Linked DNA regions of Homo sapiens: regions 1, 2, 3 and 5 are each linked to region 4. Evidence: promoter capture Hi-C in 16 types of primary human blood cells and fetal thymus (Javierre and others, 2016). All regions are on one chromosome and are shown on one strand. The core of a region is centred on a gene start or on the middle of the fragment in contact, and the rest is flanking DNA. Distances in the headings are between cores, read along the strand shown.

What was found. Contacts are between HindIII fragments. The CHiCAGO score rates a contact against its expected background, and 5 or more counts as called.
Region 1: a fragment that was not itself captured here is called in contact with the fragment with the promoter of AGL in region 4 in 12 of 17 cell types (naive CD4 T cells, total CD4 T cells, naive CD8 T cells and 9 more); the score reaches 11.4 in naive CD4 T cells.
Region 2: a fragment that was not itself captured here is called in contact with the fragment with the promoter of AGL in region 4 in 8 of 17 cell types (non-activated CD4 T cells, naive CD4 T cells, total CD8 T cells and 5 more); the score reaches 8.8 in non-activated CD4 T cells.
Region 3: a fragment that was not itself captured here is called in contact with the fragment with the promoter of AGL in region 4 in 8 of 17 cell types (total CD8 T cells, naive B cells, naive CD4 T cells and 5 more); the score reaches 8.6 in total CD8 T cells.
Region 5: a contact is called between a fragment that was not itself captured here and the fragment with the promoter of AGL in region 4, in 2 of 17 cell types (activated CD4 T cells and naive CD8 T cells). The highest score is 7.4, in activated CD4 T cells.

What each region holds. Positions count from the first base shown.
Region 1 is chr1:100,860,798-100,863,497 of GRCh38, reverse strand. No RefSeq gene overlaps it. Among named protein-coding and RNA genes, the nearest start is that of EXTL2, 33 kb to the left of the region's middle. The HindIII fragment of the contact is 2,059 bases long and covers 293-2,351 here.
Region 2 is chr1:100,882,578-100,885,277 of GRCh38, reverse strand. All of the region lies in intron 2 of EXTL2 (exostosin like glycosyltransferase 2), which reads left to right. Among named protein-coding and RNA genes, the nearest start is that of EXTL2, 11 kb to the left of the region's middle. RefSeq lists a silencer at 971-1,265. The HindIII fragment of the contact is 3,425 bases long and covers 1-2,700 here.
Region 3 is chr1:100,903,445-100,906,144 of GRCh38, reverse strand. All of the region lies in intron 2 of SLC30A7 (solute carrier family 30 member 7), which reads right to left. Among named protein-coding and RNA genes, the nearest start is that of SLC30A7, 8.7 kb to the right of the region's middle. The HindIII fragment of the contact is 1,210 bases long and covers 737-1,946 here.
Region 4 is chr1:99,849,049-99,851,748 of GRCh38, reverse strand. It overlaps AGL (amylo-alpha-1,6-glucosidase and 4-alpha-glucanotransferase), which reads right to left and starts at 1,388. Exons shown (of 34, transcript NM_000642.3): 1 at 1,334-1,388; 2 at 625-774. The coding sequence starts at 706. RefSeq lists enhancers at 294-1,267, 1,918-2,067, 1,268-2,242 and a silencer at 1,418-1,737. The HindIII fragment of the contact is 4,640 bases long and covers 1-2,700 here.
Region 5 is chr1:101,311,402-101,314,101 of GRCh38, reverse strand. No RefSeq gene overlaps it. Among named protein-coding and RNA genes, the nearest start is that of LINC01307, 11 kb to the left of the region's middle. RefSeq lists an enhancer at 1,745-1,824. The HindIII fragment of the contact is 3,376 bases long and covers 1-2,700 here.

The DNA of each region.
Region 1 (2,700 bases), core at 73-2,572, 1.0 Mb before region 4:
TCTCTGAGTATCCACATTTCTTCTTCTTATAATAAAGACATCAGTCAGATTAGATTAGAGCTCAACCTAACAGCCTCATTTTAAGTTAATTACCTCTTTAAAGGCCCCATCTCCAAATACAGTAATATTCTGAGGTACTGGGAGTTAGAGCTTCAACATATGAACTTGGGAGGGGACACAATTCAGACTCTAGCACCCACTAACCCAGCTAACTCTCACTCACCCCTCTGGATGCATTTGCTCATGTCACCCTCCCTAGGAAGTCTCTGAAGCCCTAGATCTGAGTTAAGCTTCCCTCTATTGTAGCACTTCGTATTCTATATTGTAATTTCCTTTTTACTTCTCCAAAACCTCCATTGGATCTAACTCCTTGAGGGCAGGAGCCGTGTCTTATTATTTATTTTTCTAGCCACAGCCCCCAAACCCCAAAGCTGAATCACATAGGTGTTTAATCAGCTAATTAATCAGACAAAAATATATTGGTTCATATTTTCCAGATCCTTGTTTTGGTCAGGCACTTTTCAGGAAATTAATGTTAAAGTGGCAAAAGGCAAACAAGTCCAAATAAAGCCCCTCCTCTCATGGAGTAAATATTTTCACAGGAGGACAATAAGTTGGTGAAAATACGTGATATAATCTCTGGCCCCGATAAAGAAAATAGAGTAATGTGATGGAGAGTAGCTATAGGAGACTTCTTTCACTGGTGGTTCAGGAAAAGCTGGAGGAGGATGTGAGGTGTGGTTTGAATGATGAGTTGTTAAGGCATGCTCTGTGGGAAGAGAATTTCAGGCAGAGAGAACATCAGGGGCAAAGGCCCCAATATAGGAATAAACTTGGCAAGTTTGGGGGATGACAAGAATGCCAGAGGACTGCAGAGCAGTAACTGAAGGTGAGAGTAGAAGGAAATAATGCCAGAATCTTGAGCTGTGGACTAAGTACAAAGGAAGCCTCTGAAATGTTTTCACCGGGGATGGGATATGACGATTCATATGCTTAATAAGATCACTCTGGATGCTGTATAGGATGTAGATTTTAGAAGGGCAAGAGTGGGACAGGGGGACAAATTAAGAGATTGCTGGCACTAATTCAGAGAAGTGGTTCTCAACTGGGAGTGATTTCGACCCCCCCAAGCCCCATAAGGGACATTTGGCCACGTCTGGAGAGATTTTTGGTGTTCATAACTGTGTAGTGGGAATGTGACTAGCATCTGGTGGGTAGAGAGAAGGGCTGCTGCTGAACAGCCTACAGTGCACAGGACAGCCCTCAGAACAAAGAATCACTTGGTCAAAATGTCAATAATGCCAAGACTGAGAAACCCTGATCTAGAGAGAAATAATGGTAGTTGGGACCATGGTGGTAGTAATGAAGTTTGTCAGAAGTAGTTAGACTTAAGGTATGTTTGGAGTTAGCCAGTAAGACATACAAGACTTGTTGAACAGATTAGATGTGGGCTCCTGGGTTTTTCGCTGAAGACATGGGGTAGATGTTGGTAATATTTACTGAAATGAGGAAGACTGGAGATCAATCATTAAAGCATAGATGATATTAAGAGCCCTCAGAGTTGGTCGAATCATTTAGGGGGATAGCATAAATAGAGAAGGAGAGAGGGCTGGGCAGAGCCTGGGACACTCCAGAATTGAAGTTCTAGTGAACAGAAGAAGCCCGTACATGAGTACAGAAGTGCGGTGCCTGGGAAGGCCCGAGAGGATATGTTCCAGGTGCAGGGGAGGGTGGCCAAAGGGGCAGGAACTCTGTTTTCCTGAAAAAGGAGGGAAGACAAAGTTCATAAACAAGGATGTAGGAAGGCAAGTGGATTTTGTGATGAGAAAGAGGGCATTTTGCATGTTGACATTTATTGTCTATGACGAAAGTCTGAGTATGAGTATCAGTTGAGTGTGAGTGTGTGTGTATGTGGGAGGTATGGGGATTTGAGAGAAGAGAACATTGTGAAATAGCTCTCTTGGAAAGGAGGAAAATGAAGTTACCAGGGCAATGAGATAGAATAATCTGGGACTATTTTGAGTCATTTGAGATTTGTAGTTACAAATTTAAAGTGAGTCCAGTCAGCACAATTTCTGGATTCATAATTTATCAACAACCTTTATTGAATGAATAAAATATCATAATAATAGTAATATTAACATCTACCATGTTGAGTATTTACAATGTAGCATGCATCATGCTTTATGCAATGTTCTTATTTAATATTCTCAAACAAATCTTATGAAATAGGTATTATTACCTTATTTAACTGACTTAAAAAACTAAGAATTAGAGAGGTTAAATAATTTGTTCAAGGCCACAAAGTAAAAAGGTCAGGATTCAAACCTGGGTCAGTCAGTTATAAAGCTTATATTCTTAACTATTAATAATATATCCTACTCAGGCTACCATTAATAAAAACCACTGCCCTGACCGGGGCTTTGTAATTACCCTAGTCTTCAGAAAGCCAAAGATACTAGTAACTCTAGGAGTAGTGGTGGGAATAAATGAAGATAGTGCTAAAAAAAGAAAAAAAACCTAAGTTTCATTAAAAATGCATGTAATTAATTGCTACAATTTACTGCTTTATGATTCTTCTCTTGCAAGATTCTCCTTGAGGCTTACTTAAATCCAGTTTTATCTGTTTACTGAAATGGGCTAGGGAAGGGCAAGTGGAGTTGGAACAAGGTACTGGAGAAGGAACAAGGTACACAGTGT
Region 2 (2,700 bases), core at 161-2,660, 1.0 Mb before region 4:
AAACAGGGATGTTCAAATATATTTTAATGCAGAATATCTTTGAAAAGATGTGAAAAAAAATCAGAGATCTGAGACATCTTTTGTTTATCAAGTGGCTTGGCCACAGAACTGCATGTAGAAAGGGGGCCTGTGTGGTCTGTGTTTGAGGTCACATTTCATGACATGCTCTTCTAGTCACCAGATGGGTGATGACCCAGCTCTTCTATGTAGGGAACAGTTGCTTTGGTACTGTCTAGTCTTAATTGGGCCTTAATTTACATTTAATCTGCATTTATTCTGTTAATGTTTCAGGCATTCATTGACATTTAGGACAATTTAGACATAAATTCCCTCATTTAATTCAACTATAGTGATGTGAGCACTGAGTCAAAAAATGGGCCAGACACTGTTCTGGATTATAAAGAAGGACAGAAACTTCCCTCAAGATACGTTAAGACTGAAAAAAACAGCAAAAGAACAGTCGATAGTTGAAATACCTGAAAACAAGGACTAGAAACACAGTAATCAGAGTTCACTGGAATACTCAGGGTGGAGAGTGGTGAGGGAAACATTTATAGGAGATGTGATATTTGAAAGAGATTTGAGGGGCAGGGAGTAAGAGTTTGTCAGATAGAAGGGTTTTGGAAGTAGAGAAAATAGCATGTACCAATACATGGAGTCGTGGATCGGCTCACTGTATGTAGGTACCATTGAGGGGAAATGTCTTTTTGGAATTTGGCACCACATGCGCCTTTGCCTTAGTTTAAACAGTGTTGGTTATCTGCATGCCATAAACCTGGTCAGAAACTGGTCATTGGTTGTAGAGCCGTCTCTTCCAATTTTCTTTTTGCATCTTCTTACGTGCATCAGCTCAGGTTCTGCATTGGCCTCTGTATTCAACCTTGGAATGATTTTATCTCTTGGCAGCTGAGGCCCCTTTTCTGAGCATCTACATTCTATATTCATCAGTTTATAGGCAAGTAAATATTCTAGAAGATGAGCCAGAGGAGAAACAATCTGGACAGTATGAGGCAAATCTCGTAGTGAAATGGCAGAATAGTTATCGTTCTGCTGCCATCTGTGGCAGCAAAATAAAAATGACAGCTTCTCATTGTACAACACCACGTTGCTCATTGCTTTTCTACCTTATGAGTCAGAGAACATAATCTTTGTTCATGCTGTGCACTGGCATGTTTGTTTTCAGCTTCTCTCTGGATAATTATTGCTTTCCAGTCTGAAGGAACTAGCCTTGAGGAAAGAATCCTTCAACGGTGTTTCTTCTAGGGAACTTTGATAGATTATGTAGTAAGTAACTCTATAGCAGATCTTTGGAAATTCAAATTGCCTGGTCCATTTAAAGACATCCATGACAGAATTTGTACTGTTATTTAATATACTATATATTATTTACTTTCTTATTCTATGTCCACATTTAAGAAAATTACTTGTAATTTCAAATAATGCTCTTTGAAAAGCTACTTCAGTTCTCAGATATTTAAATATTACTGACATAATGACCCAGCAATTCTACTCTTAGGTAAGCACCTAAGAGGACTGAAACCATAGGTTCACATAAAAACTTGTACATGAATGTTCATAGCAGCATTATTCATAATGGCCAATATGTGGAAACAATTCAAACGTCCATTAACTGATGAATGAAGAAAATGTGGTCTATCCATAGAATGGAATGTTACTTGGCAACAAAAAAAATGAGGTACTGATATATACCTCATGATATATACAGCATGGATGAACCTCAAAAACATTATGCTAAGTGAAAAAAGCCAGATACAATGGTCATATATTGTATGATTCCATTCATATGAAATATCCAGAATAGGCAAATCCACTGAGACAGAAAATAAATTAGTGGTTTCCTGGAGCTGGGATGGAGGTCAGGGGTTAAGGGAAGTGAAAATAGGGATTGGCTGCTAATGGGTCTGGGGTTTCTTTCTGAGGTGTTGAAAATGTTTTAAAATTAAATTGTGGTGATGGTTGCAAAACTCTGTGATTATATTAAAAGCTACTGAACTGTATACTTTAAATGGGTAAATTTTATTGTATGTAATCTCTCCTTAAAGATACTAAAAAACTCCAACATAACAAGTATAATTTTTTATATTATCTTGCAGGTTAGTGACAGTCTTCCTTATTAATTTTTTGACACATCCTTGCAGAATTTACCCTAGCATAGTGGAAAGAGTTGTGGACTGTGCCATCAGAAGGTTTAGAGTCTTCTCTTGGTTCTGCTGCTGATTAGCCACATGCAGCTGCATGACCTTAGGCAAGTTCCTTATCCCCGGACCTTGAGTTGTTTATCTGTGAAACAAGGAAACTGGCTAAGGAGGACCCTGAAGTCTCTTTCAGCTCTCTGAGTTTCTGTGTTTGTGCAATAAGTCATATAATTATGTAATTATTGGGGCAGTATTTTTTAGTTGGTTTGTTGTGTTTTTTGTTTTTTGTTTTTTTATGAGATGAGAGTCTCACTCTGTTCCCCAGGCAGGAGTGCAGTGATGCAATCACAGCTCACTGCAGCAGCCTCAACGTCTTGGCTCCAGCTATCCTCCTGCCTCAGCCTCCTAAGTAGCTGGGACTATAGGCATGCACCACTACAGATGGCTGATTTTTTAATTTATTTGTAGGAATGGGGTCTCATGACATTGCCCAGGCTGGTCTCAAGTTCTGGGGCTCAGGCAGAATCCTGCTTTTGCCCCCGTA
Region 3 (2,700 bases), core at 92-2,591, 1.1 Mb before region 4:
ACCACTGAAAAATTCAAAGACTGTGATTTGTGGAAATCAGCAATAACAAAACACAAAACCCAGCTCAACCCCAGTTTGACTACTGAGCAAATAGTTTCGAAAGTCCCATACTAACGGCCAAACAGAAAAATAGGTGTGCCCATTTCTGGACATATACAGTCTCTATTATTCTTTTAAACAGAATGTCCAGCACTCAATGACAAAATCAAGAAAGAAAAAAAGAGAGACTCATTGTTAAGAGCTACAACAGTCAACAGAACCAGAAATGGCCCCAATGTTGGAACTATTAGATAGGACTTTAACAACAAATACAATTAATATGTCAAAGGATGTGGTATAAAGTCAGAGAAAATTCATTAACAAATGAATAATTTCTGCAGATAAAAACTATAAAAGAATATAATGGAAATGATAATTTTTTAAAAATTACAATATGGAGGAATAACAGTCATGGGCTTCTGAGCAGACTGGACACAGAGAGAAAGAATCAGTTAGGTCAAAAGAAGTTAAACAAAGTGCAACACAAAGAGAAAAGAGAGTGGAAACAAACAGACAAACAAAAAAAGCAGAGCATCCCAAACCTGTCTGGACGTATCAAACATACTAAAATACATGTATTTAGAGTCTCAGGAACAGAAAAGAAAAAAAGAAAGGGATAGGAAAAGTATTTAAAGAGAAAATGTTTCAGAGTTTTCTGAAATTCATAAAAGAAAATAAATCACAGATCCAAGAAGCTTAATGAACCCAAGCGAGGAAAAAACCCTCCACACGTCACAAACCACTAAACATCAAAGAGAAATAAAAAAATCTTTGAAAACCAGAGGGGAAGAAAGAGAAAAATTAAATTAAAAAAATAAAGATAAAATTTATAGCATGTTTTTCTTCAGAAACTATTCAAGCCAGAATGCAATGGAGCAACACCTTTAAAGTATTGAAAGAGAAAAAAAATACTGTCAACAACCTAAGGTATGACAATAATAGCACACAGAATGGAATAAGAAAATCAAAGTGTATTATTGTAAGGTTCTTATCAGATACATGAAATGACATATTATTTGTGATAATTTAAAGATTAATATTATACATACTAAAGCACCCACTAAGAAAAGCCACCAAAAGAAGGGAAGGAAATCCTCTACCAACACAAAGCAGACGTTCTGCTACCACTGAGAATGGAGAAGGAAAGTTGTCTCCATCCAGGACCATAAACATACACACAGTAGAGTTTGGCTATTACAGGAGAAGGAGTAAAAATGTTGACAAAATCATACCCCTGAGGTTGAGGCTTACAGAATCTACCAAAGACAGAGGCTTTGGGTTAAAGTTAACAAATACCCCTCTGCCTTCACCATAAACTGGGTACTGAGTAACAAGCAACAGCAGTCTATAGCTTGGGCAGGAGTAAGCGCATGAAGAAAAGAGCTTCTGTGGCACAGGCACCATACAGAGATTACTAAAAGCACAAAGTCCAACCAACTAGTGGTCTGACAGACAAGGCATACCTATTTCCGATCATAAATACTATTACCTCAGTATCTACTGTTTTTTACTCATAATGTCCAATATTTGATAAAAAAAATTTCAAAATACACAAAGAGCCAAAAAAAAAAAGAAGTCACTGTGGAGAAAGCAGTTAACAGAACCAGACCAAGATATTGACCCAGATACTGGAGCTATCATAAACTCTAATTAATATGTTAAAGGATCTATGGAAAAAGTGGACAAAAAAATATGAACCAGTGGGGAATTTGGTAGAGAAGTGGGAAATATAAAAAACAATCAAATGGAAATACTAGAAACAAAAAACAAGTTATCAGCGATAAAGAATTCTTCCAATTGGCTTATCACAGACTGGACACAGCTGAGGAAAGAAATCCGTGAACTTGAAGAGAAGTCAATAAAAATGTTCTGAAAGCAATCATCAGTTCAGTCTTTAAAAACAAGCTTCTGAAGTCAGAGTACCTGGGTTCAAATCCCAGCTCCAAATTTACTAGTTCCGTGACCAGTAAGTTACTTAACTTCTTTGTGCCTCAATTTAGCCATCACTTCAATAGAGTATAGTATAAAAGTGTCATAATTGTTATAATAATTGAGTTAATATATATGAAACATTTACCACAATGCTTGTCACATTAAAACCACATTAATATTCCTATTGCTAATTATTAATAAATCACATTATTAATTATTAACTATTATTAATGCTTATAATACCTGGTGTTCCCAAGCACAACCCATACCTCTTAATATTTGGCTAGATGCTAGAGTTTTCATCAGTTGGAAGTGCTACAAACTAAAAGTCAAAAACATTCTTCACACATACAGAAAAAGCATGGTTTTAAATTTTTCTCATAATTTGGAATAATTATATAATTAGAAACTAAGTCAAAGCACATCATTTACCAACAAGAAAAAGCACAATAATTTATAAACCTCTGCCAAATCATTACAAAAGATTTTAGAAAATGTCTTAAACTTTTATCATGAACCTTATTTATTCCACTGAAATATAGATATATTAGAAAGTTTAAGTGCAGATAGTACTTTAACCATCTCATCTGACATCTAACTCAAAGCAGAATGAGAATTGGTGAATAAATGATAAAGCAGAATAATAAAACTGATACATGAGGACAAGGTAAGGGGCATATTATTCATGCAATTCTCTTAGATTTAATATTTTAAGATTTGTCCTTGTAT
Region 4 (2,700 bases), core at 139-2,638:
AATAAAACATCTATTAACTAGCCTTGTAGAAAAGTAATTTGATCTTTTAAATACAGATCAACTATATATAGTTCAACATAACCAGATGAGTTATTGCACTTTTTATTTGCTAAGAAAATATTTTCAGCTTTTACCTACTCCACATTTGAGAAGTTTTTGATATACATAAACAATAGTTTACTATACTTTTTGCTGCAATCTATTTTGTCAATTCAAAGGTTCAACAAAGGAAAAGAGACAGTTATACAAAGGCAAAACTACATGCATACCCAAAGCAAAATTACATATGAAGTAATTTACCAAGTTTTAATAGTAAATGTTATTAGAAATAATATGGGCAATCTTCTGATCATATATTTAACTTCAATCTTAAGTGGGAATTAGTACGCAGAGAAAAGAGAACTATTTTATCCTTATCCTAACACGAGGGATATAAAATATTTTTAATTCAAATCAACATTAATTAGTGATATATGGAGAACACAGCACCATCTTTGCACAAATCAAGTTTTAGACCCTTGGAAATAATATTTATCTTAGAGCTTTAAAACATTTAACAGGACTGCCAATGAATTAAAAGTTTAAAAGACGCAAATGAGCAAATCAAAACAACTTGCTACTGACCTTGTTCAAGTCTGAAGAGGGTCTTTTCCAGTTTCTCCATTTCGTTCAGAAGTAAAATTCGAATCTGTTTACTGTGTCCCATTTTGGCTTCTAGAGGATTTGAAATCTTTCATAAGAATTAAAAGAACTCCACAGTCGAATGAGTTACCCCTATGAAACAAAAAGGAGTTAAAATATCGAAAATAACTATTGCCTTAAACTCTCCAGAGCTGACAGCGGCACTTACATGTTCGAAGTGTGTTTTATGCCTAGCAGAGCAATGAAAGAGAATGAATCTTATAACTATTAAGATTCGAGAAGGCAAATTAATAGTTGTTTCCTGCCTTTGAGCACAACGAATAAGACCGAAATAAAAATGCTGTATTACAGATTCTTACAATTAAAAAATTAAAAACCTAGACCATTCTCAGAGAAAAGCAATACACTTAGGAAAGCCTGAAGTCAGGGGGACATTCCCAGCCCCAAGCCACAGGGCTCTGGAGACTCCGAATGGCACTTCTGCTTACAAGAGATTAGTCTGCTCAAAGATAACAGGTGGGCAATCTCCCCATTCCCAAATTCGGGTCGCCAGCCACCAATGGGGAGATGAGAACAGAGGGAAGCAGTTGTTGCCTCTGGAATAGCTGCCGTAGACAGAAGATGTACAGAGCGAGCTATAGATAGAAAGAATGCGTTTCCCCGCGAGGCCAGCGGCATTCCTAGCACTTACGCCGAGGGAGTTATACGTGCGGCTTCTGGGGCACTGCAGGACCCGCGACTCTGGTGCTACGGTCGGGGGGAGGGGACGGGGAGAAACAGAAGGGGAAGGGCTGGCTGCCCAGCCTCGCACAGAAGCCGCAGCCCAAGGAGGGCCGGGCGCCGTGAAGGGCAAAGGGAGGGGCGGCGAGCGACCGGGGCAGCGCCGAGGCAGCTGGGTGAGAAGCAGGCAGAGTCTCAGCGACTTCGCCTCGCGCGGGTTCCTGGGCGCACCCGGTACCCAACCTGGCCGTGCGCGCACTCGCCCCAGGTGGGAGCGGACCGTACCTCTGGCCCACTTCCGGGAGGCTCGACCCGCCCGCCCCGACCGCTAGTCTCGCGAGAGCGTGGGCACCGCACCGTCTCAGTCGGCTCCGGGCCGGGGGACCTGGAGCCTGCTGCGGCTGAGGCCGGGAGCGGCGCTTTCTCCTTGCCCTGGGGAAGGTGCACCGGCCAAGGCGCGGCCTTCCTTTAACAGCCTGCGAGCTCACAGTTGCACATTAAAATCCCGCGGTACCGGCTGCGAGCTAGGTTGAGCTGCACAGTAGGATCTTTTGCTGGGAAGGGCTGAATGGTGAGGGGCAAACGACCTGGCTTCTGGTGTCTTTTGTGCCACCACGTGTTTTGTTTCTTTGTTTTGATAATTTTTACTTGGCCTAAGTTCTCAGAGTCCTGATTTCTAAGTGTCTAAAATAAGGGGCCTGGCTACAGCCTTGACATTCCAGCCAACACGTGTCCATCACTTCTAGTGCTAACAGACAGGACACATGTTCCTGAATGCAGACCCAGTAGGTAAGGTGTGGCCAGTCTGCAAACCATCGAGAGTGCAAACACCACTGATACTTAACGGTGTCCGGGTGTACCTCATGTACACTAGATAGACCCGGAGATCGTCTGAGATTAAGCTGCACTTATGTTAGGCCAGTAACTCAGAACTTTTTGCAGATGCTTAAGGAGATTTAATGCCTGAGGGTAAAGGAAAACCCATCTTCCAGGGCTTTTGGAGGGCTCCTAATGGTTATGAGAAAATGGACAGAAGATTTGGTTAACTAAGACTTGTGGCGTGTGGAGAAGATTCTTGCATTCTTTATTGTGGAATGACTGTAGGTCCAAAGAGGATATAAGTTAAAAAAAAAAACCCCATACTGAAGTATTTGTTTATTTCTGTAGATTTCTGAGAATGGCTAGTTGCAAATGGTCCGTAACTGACTTTGGGAACCCACAGCTCATTTTCTGGCCCCTACTATTTGCCAGGCACATAAGGTGCTGGGAATGCAGCAATAAAACAGTCACTGCCCTCAAGGAACTCCTACATTTTATTGGTGGGAGACAGATAAATTA
Region 5 (2,700 bases), core at 190-2,689, 1.5 Mb before region 4:
ATAGGAAGCAAAAGAAGACTTCTCTTAAGCCGAAATCCTGCTGGGTTTTGAAAGACAAGTTGTTGAAATAACACATAAACAGGTATAAACATAAACCATGATATGTTCAAGGGGAATACTGGTGGTTCACTCTAGGTGGAACATGTGGTAAAAGTGGACAGCTAGAGATTCAATCTTGAAAAATGATAACAGCTAACAGCCTATGATGTGTCAAATTCTGTTCTAAGTGTTTTAGGTATATCAACTCATTTAATTCTCTTGACTACCTTAAGAGTAAATAGCACCATTTTATAGGTAAGGAAACTGAGTCCCAAGAGCAAGTTCACACAGCTAGTATATGACAGAACTCGGAGACAAAGAGCCACGACTGGTGAAGACAATAAAATCGCGGTATACGTTGCTTGGGCGTTCTACCAGGCTAGTCCCTGCCTAGCACATTTCTTCCACATGCTGCTGTCCACCATACAGGCGGCTTTTATGAAATGGGGGAAAAAAGCCATCAGTTGTCATAGAAACAATAGCAATTTGTGCCACCTGTGTGCAAGCAGATAGGAGAGGCTTGCTGCTGCTGTTTGGCTATTGTCCAAGGACCCAGATTGAGAAACATCAACTGGCTTAAAAGGGAGCCCCTGAATTTGAATGTAGGCAGTCTGAACCTAGGATCTGTGCTCTTAGCCACTACACAAAACTGTATCATACTACAATCTGGTAAAGGATGATTATAACTTGGAATTTGAACTTTCTTTGAAAGGGAATGAGGAACCTTTGAAGGGTTTTAAACTGAATGGTGCTAGGGACAAATTGGTGTTCTGAATCTTTTCTAAAGAAAGTGTCTCTAAGCAAGGTGCAGTGGCTCACACCTGTAATCCCAACATTTTGGAAGGCCAAGGTAAGAGGATCACTTGAGCCCTTGAAGTTCAAGACCAGTCTGGGCAAAATAGAGAAACCCTGTCTCTCCAAAAAAATAAAAAATTAGCTGGGCATGTTGGCACATACCTGTAGTCCTAGCTAATTGGGCGATTGAGGTGGGAAGATCTCTTGAGCCCAGGAGTTTGAGGTTGCAGCGAGCTATGATCTCACCACTGCACTCCAGCCTGAGCAACAGAGCAAGACCCTGTCTCAAGGAAGTCTCTCTGAAGGTGTGTGAAAGTCAGAAGGGGTGAGACTGAAGTGATGAGCCAAACTAGGACAGCTGGGACCTGAAGGCACGCAGACCTGTTTGGGTGAAGTCAGTACTAGGAAGAAGTCCCTGGGAGTACTGACATCATGAAGTCCAGTTGCATCCAACAGGGTAGACGGGCAGCTGGAGCACTGCCTCAGAGAGCCAAGTAATTGTATCAGAAGAACCCAGAAATAGACACCCAGCACAGCGTCCAGCATTTAGGAGCAAGACTCTGGTCCCAGGATAACTGGGCACAAGGAAGGCGAGAGAAGGTGATCAAAAAATGCCAGAAGGTGAGGGCAGGTGCTGTGGCTCATGCCTGTAATCCCAGCATTTTGGGAGGCTAAGGCAGGAGGATCCCTTGAGCCCAGGAGTTTGAAGCTACAGTGAGCCATGATCCCTGTACAGGGAAAGGGTTCAGGAGCTCAGGCCCTGTAGGTAACAAGACTAGGACTCAGTTACCAGAACAGCAGTATAAGCAGAGCTTAGACACAAAGAATCGGGCAAGAACCTAGTTCCTAGAACCTACTCTTAGAGTTACTACAAAGTGAAAGGGAAACCATCACAGGCGAACTCCATGAAGTAACATCAAAGCTCCCAGCTTAAAGATCCCACTGTCCTAATGTTCTGGACAAGAATTTCAGGTCAGGCTGAAAAATTGGTTCAGGAGGAGGCTCAGGGGCCTTGCCCAGGCTGCTGGAGGAAGCAGCCAAGTAGCGTGTCCCTGAATTTCTGGCCCAGTCCTAGCCCTAAGCCAACCCAACCCCCCGAACCCAGAAGTTTTCACCACAGGGCATGGGACACTAGAAACACAATGACTTAAATAGATGCTAAAAGGAATCTGGGTGAAACCACTGGAAACATTCAAATGACCGAGCCCAAGAATCTTGTATTTAATCAGGGTTCTCCAGAGGAATAGAACCAATAGGATATATACAAGGGCAGGGAAAGACCAACGTCCTTGCTCAAGCAACCAGGCAGGAAGCAAAAGGTGGCAAACTCCTTCCCCTACCTTTGTTCTACTCAGGTACTGAACAGATTATTGGATGATTCCCACCTACATTGGTAAGTATGGACCTTCTTTACTTGGTCTTCTGATTCAAATGGTAATTGCACCCTCATTGACTGTTGCAGAAATAAATTACAAATACATATAGGAAAAAGGACTTCAAAAGGCTGCGGTATCAAAGTGGCAGTTAAAGAGAAGGCAATACTCAGAGTTGCAGGTGGAGCAGCGGAAACTATGTTTATCAGCTTTACCCAGCCATCCCTCAGCCCAGTCAAGTTGACACATACAATTAACCATCTCAGAACTTGTGACCAACAAATGGATTTTGGATGCTGTCATGCCAAGTAGGCTTTCTTATCCCTAGTCTTTCAAGCGAAGTTTCATCTGGCTTTTCTCAGTAGGACCATCAAGTCCACAGAAGCCACGTCTTCCCCACTTTGACATGAGCAAGGAGATCCCAGGCATATAGCCTATAAAGGGGGTCAGACAGGGAAAGAAGCTGGAAGTGGACCAGCCAGAGTATCCCACT